3 separate regions of the Homo sapiens genome follow, and all the other regions are linked to region 1. The links are contacts of gene promoters, found by promoter capture Hi-C in human tissues and cell types (Jung and others, 2019). All regions are on one chromosome and are shown on one strand. Each heading gives the region's core, a stretch centred on a gene start or on the middle of the fragment in contact. The rest is flanking DNA. Distances are from core to core; before and after follow the strand shown. Region 1 holds the start of MBP (myelin basic protein). Region 2 has its middle 330 kb from the start of LINC01029. Region 3 has its middle 350 kb from the start of LINC01029.

Region 1 (2,661 bases), core at 57-2,556:
CCCAGCGAGCCCACGCGCCCCTCACCCACGCGCAGAGAAACCGAGCACTTGTTGATTCTCACGTTGTTGCAATTGGAAAACGGAACAAGGAACCAGAGCTCGCCTGTTTCCAGCCAGAGTCGCACGGGGGTCCCCAAAGACGCTTGAACCTTTTCCCAAGCCCCACTCCACCTTCCAAAACGGGGGGGCTCAGGTGGACGCGAAAGGACACAAGGCGCTGCCCCCAGCACCCCGGAAAATCTAGTGTGGCGGCAAATGACCGCAGGTCACACACCCCGGCCTCGGGGGCCACGGAAAACGGACGCACCCGGCCCAGGACAGGCAGTGGGGCCCAGGAGGGGACTGCCGGGAAGACCCGGGCGGGCCGGCGGGCGGCTGCGGGCGGCGCACGTGGGCCCAGGTGGGCGCAGCGACGGGCCCGGCCGAAGAGCCCGAGACAGGCCCTGCGAAGGCGGAAGCCCGGACCCGGGCTCTCCTGGCCGCCCCTGGAGCTCAGAGGGAGACTGCGCTTCGCCCCGGGGGCAGGGGCAGGAGCGCGATCGCGCGCGGGGCCCCCGGGGTGTGATTAGCAGGCGCCGCGAGCCGGGAGGACCCCCCAGCCCGCCCTGGCAGCCAGCACCCTCTCCACACCCGCCCAGAGTGGCCGCTTTTGACCGCCGTCCCCTCCCACCCTAGACTCCTCCCCTCAGCCCCACGGCCCGAGGCCGAGCGGTTTCAGCGACCCTGGGACCGCCGGGCCTGGCTGGAGTCCACCCCTGGACACCTGTCAGGGTCGGGCCCCGGCGCTGTAAACCCGCGTCTACACCCGCGCCCAGCCCCCGCGCAATGGGGATCGGGGGCGGCGACTTGGGTTCGGGTCAGGGAGGCCGCCGGCTGCTACCTGCTCGGCCACCTGCTCCGCTGCCTAGGTTCTCCCTGCGCGTCCCCAGCCAAGAAAGGGACCCGGAGTCCGGGCGTCGGGATAGCTCCTGTCCCCGATCTTGCGCCCCCGGCTCCCGCGGGGCTCCGGTCCGGGGTCCCGCCCAGGTCTCCGCGGTCCCCACTCGGAGGGGCACAGAGACAAAGGCGGCAGAGCAGCCCGCCCGTCCCCGAGGGTCACCCACCGGCGCTGCGCTCGTTGCTCCGAGGCCGAGGGGCGCCGCGGGGTCCAAGGCCCTGCTCCGCCTGCCCAGGCCCGGGCAGGCTGGTCTCGGCTTCAAGCGCCCACGCGCGGGGTCCCCGGGCAGCCTGCTTCGCCTTCCGGGGTCGGGAGACAGGGGCCGCCGGGGCCGGAGGCTGCTTCTCTCTGGCGCGCGGCGGCGGTGACTGACGGCGGCGGCTCCGAGGGACGGGCGCGCACCCAGCTCCCCGGCCCCGCCTCCCCGGGCTTCCTGCGAGCCAGGTAAACACAGGCCGATCCCGCCGGGCCCGCCCCACCTGGACGCGGCCGCCGGCGCCGCCCCGGGAGCTCGGAGGACCCCGGGCCCGCTCTGCCCACGCGGAACTTGGGGGGCGCACGGGGCCCACGCGCAGGGTCAGACCTCGGAGGGGCGGCCTGGAGCCTCGCCCGCTGCCGAACTGGGCTCCGAACTGCGGCCCGTCGACCCTTCCCGTTCGGAGGCTTGGCCTCCGAACCCACCCCGACCCCGACCTCGACCTCGCGGGAGGGGTGCCAGGCCGCATCTCCCCGCGTCCTCAGGGGCTGGAAACCCCAGAAACTGCCGATAGACTTGGCGCAGCCCCGGCCCTGCAGGAGGAGAGTCAGCCCGGCCTGGAGGCGAAAGGAGCCGGCAGGTCCTCCCAAGGCACTCCCTCCCTCCCCTGGAGCCCAGGCCAGGCCCATGTCCGGCTGGCAGGTGCTCCTCTGGGAGCTGGGAGCTGGGAGCTGGGAGCTAGGGGCGCACCTTCTCCTGCAGGACCGGCGCAGGAAGCGTGCGCGGAAAAGACAGCAAAACACGCGCAGGTGCGAGGAAGCAGCCTGGTCCTGCAGCCCAGAGACATCGTGGTCTTCGTCGCTGTCTTGTTAAAAAGAAAAAGCCTGCTGTTTAGCCGTGACTCACCTGCACACAGATTTAGTGGTCAGAGATCTTTCTCTGGATTCTCAGCCTCCTGATGGTGGAAGAGGAGGAGGTTGGGGGAGTCCCAGAATGAGGCCCCGCGTTCCTCCTGACCTACACCCCCAGTCAGGGATCTGGATCTGGAGCTTCCAGGGGACCTGGAGCAGCCTGGGACCCACACAGTTTGTTAGGAAGTGAGGGAGAGGGGTGAGCGCTGTCCCGGCCCGCGCTGGGAGGCGGGACTCAGACTTCAGCACGGGGTCGGGGTTTCGGCCTAAAACCAGCCTCCCCCAAAGCCCCGGAGGATTTAGCAACTGTCTTCAAATGCTGGCAACTGGAAGAGAAATACTTCCACAACGACGCAAAAGCATTCAGTCTGGTCGTTTCCTCAGGAGAGATTTTCAAGTGGAGGGGGCAGGAGGGTTCTGAGACTTTGAGGCTGAAGGTGAGGAGGGAAAAGGGTGCCAAAGATAGTGTGTTTCTCCAATTTTTCTGCCCCACAACCTCACTTTAAGTCAAGGATGAGCGGAGTGGGCGTGGGAGGCTGGACAGCTGCCCTAGGAGCACGGGTGGTGACAATGAACCCGGGTGCACCCAGGTCCCAGCTCAAGTCACTCAAAGCTCA
Region 2 (2,661 bases), core at 42-2,541, 530 kb after region 1:
CGTCTGAGCGTTGGTTTTCATGGTGTTCAACACAGGGTTTGCTAGAGCATGCACCAGCTTTGTGAAGGGCAAGCTTGCTTGCTCCTGGGAAAGGGGCTGGAGGAAAAGTCTCCAACACATCCCACTGAGTAGAGAAAGGGACACATAAAGATACAAGGAGTACCAGAATTTTTGGAGACAGAACTATCAAAGCTGCTACTGAACCAATGACAAAATGGAGAAAACAGATGATACCAAAGAGCGTAGTTTGAATTTCAGAACCATAATATGTGGTCACAAAGTGGTAACCTTGTAGTCATGAGGGTATTATCTACTGTCATTTGCATGATAGAGAAAACGCCCATAGATGAGGAAAGAATAAAAACTCAAAAGCTTAACTTTCCTAAGCAAGAGAAGAAAACCAGTTAATATTAAACAGGAAGTAAGGTTAGCACTTGAAAAAAAACATTGCGAGCACAATGCTGCATTTCACACAAGAAAAAGATGGCTCAGTTACAAGATAAACTAAAGATGCGGCCTTTCTCTATGTCTGCAGAACACAGGTAGTAAAATGAACCTGCAGGTGCACCGTTATTCGCCGGGTGTTCTGCAATTGTCATGGAGGTGCCACGGAGGGGAAGTCAGGACAGTGGAAGGGGGTGTACTACGAGAGATCCAGCTTACGAGGGCAGAATTTCTGTAGGAAATATGCTATGCATTTGAATGGGGCTGAAGCCTCCTGTGGAAGTGCAACTAGCAACTAACAAGCATCTCAGAGCAAATGAAGTGGAGGGAAACTTAAATTGTGGCGTTGCTGAGTTTTGGCTGCGTAGATGAGACAGAAATTGCACCATCATTGTTGTTTCGTCTATCTTATTTTCTAGGCTTGGAGCTCCTTGGGGAAAGAAGTTGCTCTATTGGATTTGGTGTTTTCTCCATGTAACACAGCTCCAGGCAGACACCAGGTGCTTTAATGAATCTTTCGTGCTTTCTGGGCCATTTTTCAACTGTCTGAATGTTCCCAATTGCATCACTTTGAAGAGCTTGGTAATTTAGCTAAAATTGCAGCTCTGTCCTGAGAAAGCATCAGATAGCAAACATATCTCCATAGAGAAGGATTATAACCAGTCCCAAGGTATGTTAGTGAGGAAGCAATTAAGTGCGTGGACCAAAAAAAAAAAAAAAATTAGTGAAAGTATAATGTAAACATGAAGGGCAGTGCCAGCAGAGCAAGACTCCCAGGTCTGAAGTTTGCACCTCTGTGCTGTGAGCAGGACCCAGAACGGCTGCCGTCATGAGGAGATGGTTCAGAGGTCACCCTCCGAGCTGCTCATGTAAGGGTGGGTCCTCCAGGTAGCCTCATTTCCCTGCTATACCTGCTGTAGGAGCCATGGTATCAGAGGGGAGTTTATCAATGAAAAAGTCATACAAATAAATTTTAGAAACAACAACAATGAAGACCAAAGTTCTCCATCCATCATTTTCCGGTGTGATCCACGATTCCTGGTTTTTACAGAGTTCAGCAGAATCTCGCTATTAGCCCTGCAGCCTGGCTGTGAGGAAGCTGTTCCATGCCGTCACCAGCATCAGGTCCAATGCACATCTCTCTTTCTCGCTGGGTGCAGAGGATCCAGTGGAGAATGCTGGGGCTACCTCGTGCACGATGGAGTCACTGAGGAAAGGAGCCTGGGGCCCTGAATGACTGGGTGGAGTCCTCTTTTGCCCCTCGCCATCAGCTCTGTTGGACTGGATAAAAGTTAGAAATGGAAACTGTGTTGGATTTAGCCACTGAGATTTGGGAAATTATTTTTTATAGTAGAGTGCCTATGCTAATGAATATAGAAACAATTCTAACTACTCTCCAAATATTTTCATCATGATACATAGTCCTCCCAATAGGCCAAAATGATTGATTGCCTCCCACTGTTGCCATTGCTGTCCGTTAGTCATCTTTTTAAAAAGTTTGCCACCATTGTCAAACAATGAATCTCAATTATTTAATGTGGACCTAGTTAAGAATCATATTGTGCGCCATTTCATGTGTTTATCAGCTTTTCTTCTGTGAATTGTCCCCCTCCCCTCCCCTCCCCTCCCCTCTCCTCTTCTTCTCTTCTCCTTTTTTGTGAGACAGAGTCTCACTCTGCTGCCCAGGCTGGAGTGCAGTGGGGTGATCTCGGCTCACTGCAGCCTCTGCCTCCCGGGTGCAAGCAGTTCTCCTGCCTCAGCCTCCTGAGTAGCTAGGGACTATAGGTGTGTCCCAACACATCCAGCTATTTGTATGTGTATGTGTGTGTATGTGTGTGTTTGTGTGTGTGTGTATTTTTAGTAGAGAGGGGGTTTTGCCATGTTGACCAGGCTGGGCTTGAACTCCTAGCCTCAAGTGATCTACCTGCCTTGGCCTCCCAAAATGCTGGGATTACAAGCGTGAGCCACTGCGCCTGGCCCTGTGTGCATTTTCAAGGTGTAGGCTGCTTGGGACCTGCTGAGCTGGGAGGGAGCCACTGTTTGGGGTTTCCTGCACCCTGATTCTGATTTCTCTCTGTCAATAACTTGTTCTTGCAGATGCTGGGCTTGGATCAAGAACCAGGAAAACTGCTTTTTAAGCAGAAGTTAAGCGATGGCCAGTATTGGCTCCCCCAGAGTTGTCATGAAATCCTAAGAATACAGAGATGGGGACTTGCT
Region 3 (2,661 bases), core at 57-2,556, 510 kb after region 1:
CCTCCACTTCAATGGATGGGTTCCCAGACACTCCCTGTGATGGCCGGAAGGTTGGACCTGGGTCAGAGCTTTACTTGGGATTCTGCTTTACTCTCATGCTAGGCTCATCCTACTGCTATAGCCTTGACCTGTCATTCAGGTAATATTTTGGACTCACGGAACTTCATTTTGTCTCATCTCTCAATTTGTTCACAGTCATCTGCTGGAAACTTCCTGCAACAACCTTGTGTAAGATTACCCACGGCTCAATTTCTAACAGTGGCATTTTGGGTACAAACGTCAGCTTAAACCTACATTTTAAATTATTACATTGTTCAAAAGAAATACCTGTGTTTCGTCTTCTAGATAAATGCATCAAGTCATCATCTATTCTCAGAAAGTTTTAGAAGAGAATTCTTAAAATAAAGCTCTATAGCATTTTATTAGAACATTGTATTATCAGTGAGAATTTTATTTCCATGTCAAATAGAATCTTTGTTGATTTTATTTGACATGGAAATAAAATTCTCACTGGTATTTTGTTCTTTTATTATATATTATGTTCACATCTATGTTATTTTATTATATATTATGGTCACTGTGAGAATTCAAGGAAAATTCAAGAATATTTCCACTGAAAAAAAGCTTATAATTGATTCTGGGAAGCAAGCTATAAATACCTGATGAGTGAAATATCAAAACACCTCAACATCTGTTTTTAAGCTTATTGGTGAGTGAATTCCTTTAAAATTAATTGCCTTAGTAGCTCATAAGAGTAGCTCTGAAAGGCTTTCTGAAGGAAAGAGCATTTGAACTATGTTTTGCAGAGCAGGATTTAAAGAGACAAAGAGAAGGCAGGAAGCATCCCAGGCAGATGACAAGGCCTGAGTACATGGGTGGAGGTGAGAAAGGCCAAGACCCGTGGATGGGGCAGAAAGTGAATCCCACTGGAATCGTGCCACATAGCCGGGTCTAGTCAGGGGCAGAAGGTGGGCTCTTGCTTGCTTAGATAAAGAATAAGAAGGAAGTATAAAAATTTGGAAAAAAGCATTGCCCCAAACTCAAAACAATAACTTTCTGGGCTGGATCTGACATTGGTTAGTGATGTAGCTAAACAATGGCAGATATGAAATCTTAGCCTCAATCTTTTCACCTGCTAGCATGTGTGATAACACTCATCTTCCCCACCCCATAGTGTCTGTGGCCAAAACACGAGACAATGCCTGTCAAAGGGGCTTTAAAGGCAAAAGAGTACCAGAAAATGTAAATTCATTATTTAGGAACTGAGACGTTAATAATATTTAATTGAGGACATTTCATGTCCAAACCAGTGCTGGATAAATAGGAGTGGATTTTTTCGGAAGGGCGGAAAGGCATTAGGAGGCTATTCCAATATTCAGTAATGCCTAACAGGATACAAGCCTCTTTTTCAGCCTGACGGTGCATGCTCACAAGTGCTAGATGTGTTATTGCAAGAATCAAAGGCAGGGAAATGAAGTTATGTGGGTGAAATATTAGCACGGGAAATGTGTGAACACAGTTTGGAAGGCTGATGATTACGTACTGATGCATTTTGGCACGTGTACAAAATGAAAGGGAACATTAACATCATCCTGAAAACTTGCTGCTATTCCACTAAATAACACATCTTTTATTGGGAGGAGAATTTGAAATAACTTTCCAAATGTAGAGATTTCAAAAATACTTTTCTAGAAATTTCCTTTTATGGAATTCAAAGATGGGTGGGCATATATATTTATTTCTTTTGGGGGGCTTCAGTAGCACAGAATCCATCATACTCATCAATCCTTAATTCATGACTGTCATCATTGTCCTTGCAAATATCCAAACTTGTTTTATTATTTGATTTTTCAGTCCAAAATTTGTTTACTTCCTTGTATTTTCTATTTCTTTCTTGAGGATTTCAATTTCTTTGCTGAGGCTTTGTGTTTTTTCATTTGTTTCAATTATGTTTGCCATTGCCCTTGAAGTATCTTTACTGTGGCTGCTTTAAGTCCCTGTGAGGTCACTCTATGATAGCACCTCTATGCTGGATGTTGGCATCTATGGCTTGCCTTGTTTCATCCACTTTGTGATCTTGCTGCTTCTTGGCATGACAGGGATTTTCTATTGAAAGAGGTGCACATTTCGTACTATGTCAGAAGACTCTGGGTCTTACTTATCTCACTGGAACCTTCTGTTGCAGCTGGTTCCTTTGATACTGCTCTGGCTTAGAAGTGACTGATGGCTTGTTACTGCCAGGTGGGGGTGAGAGTCTGGGGCCCCATCTGGCTTGTGTGGATGGGGAAGGGCAGCAGTGTTTTGCATGTGTTGTGGCTGGAGTCGAGTGGGTACTGTCTAAGTTTTCTGTCTGGGTAGGCTGCTCCTTTCTTCTGCCAGGGCTTTCTTTGTGCCTGTTAGCATTTCTATATTGCTGGAGTCCTCTGCCCTGAGGTGAGTCCAAGAACTCACCTCTGTGCCATTCTTGCATCCTGAGGCCCCAGCCAGTCTGCCTTCTGAGCTGTCTAATGCTTGTTCTACTCATAATGTTCAAGATTATTCATTATGCTCAGTGGGAGGAAGAGGGAAAAGGATGCATATCCCATCTCCCCAGAAGGGAAATCCCACTCATTAAAAATAATTCCTTTGTACATTGTATATTTCTACTTTACTTTGAGAATC

What was found. The method cuts DNA at HindIII sites, captures the fragments that hold promoters and counts their contacts. A contact is called where the count stands out against the background at its distance.
Region 2: a contact is called between a fragment that was not itself captured here and the fragment with the promoter of MBP in region 1, in 1 of the 25 tissues and cell types used here (dorsolateral prefrontal cortex).
Region 3: a fragment that was not itself captured here is called in contact with the fragment with the promoter of MBP in region 1 in 2 of the 25 tissues and cell types used here (dorsolateral prefrontal cortex and spleen).

The regions. Positions count from the first base shown.
Region 1 is chr18:77,131,477-77,134,137 of GRCh38, forward strand. It overlaps MBP (myelin basic protein), which reads right to left and starts at 1,307. Exons shown (of 9, transcript NM_001025101.2): 1 at 1,104-1,307. RefSeq lists a silencer at 272-1,571. The HindIII fragment of the contact is 18,599 bases long and covers 1-2,661 here.
Region 2 is chr18:77,664,950-77,667,610 of GRCh38, forward strand. No RefSeq gene overlaps it. Among named protein-coding and RNA genes, the nearest start is that of LINC01029, 330 kb to the right of the region's middle. The HindIII fragment of the contact is 5,019 bases long and covers 1-2,661 here.
Region 3 is chr18:77,644,213-77,646,873 of GRCh38, forward strand. No RefSeq gene overlaps it. Among named protein-coding and RNA genes, the nearest start is that of LINC01029, 350 kb to the right of the region's middle. The HindIII fragment of the contact is 6,200 bases long and covers 1-2,661 here.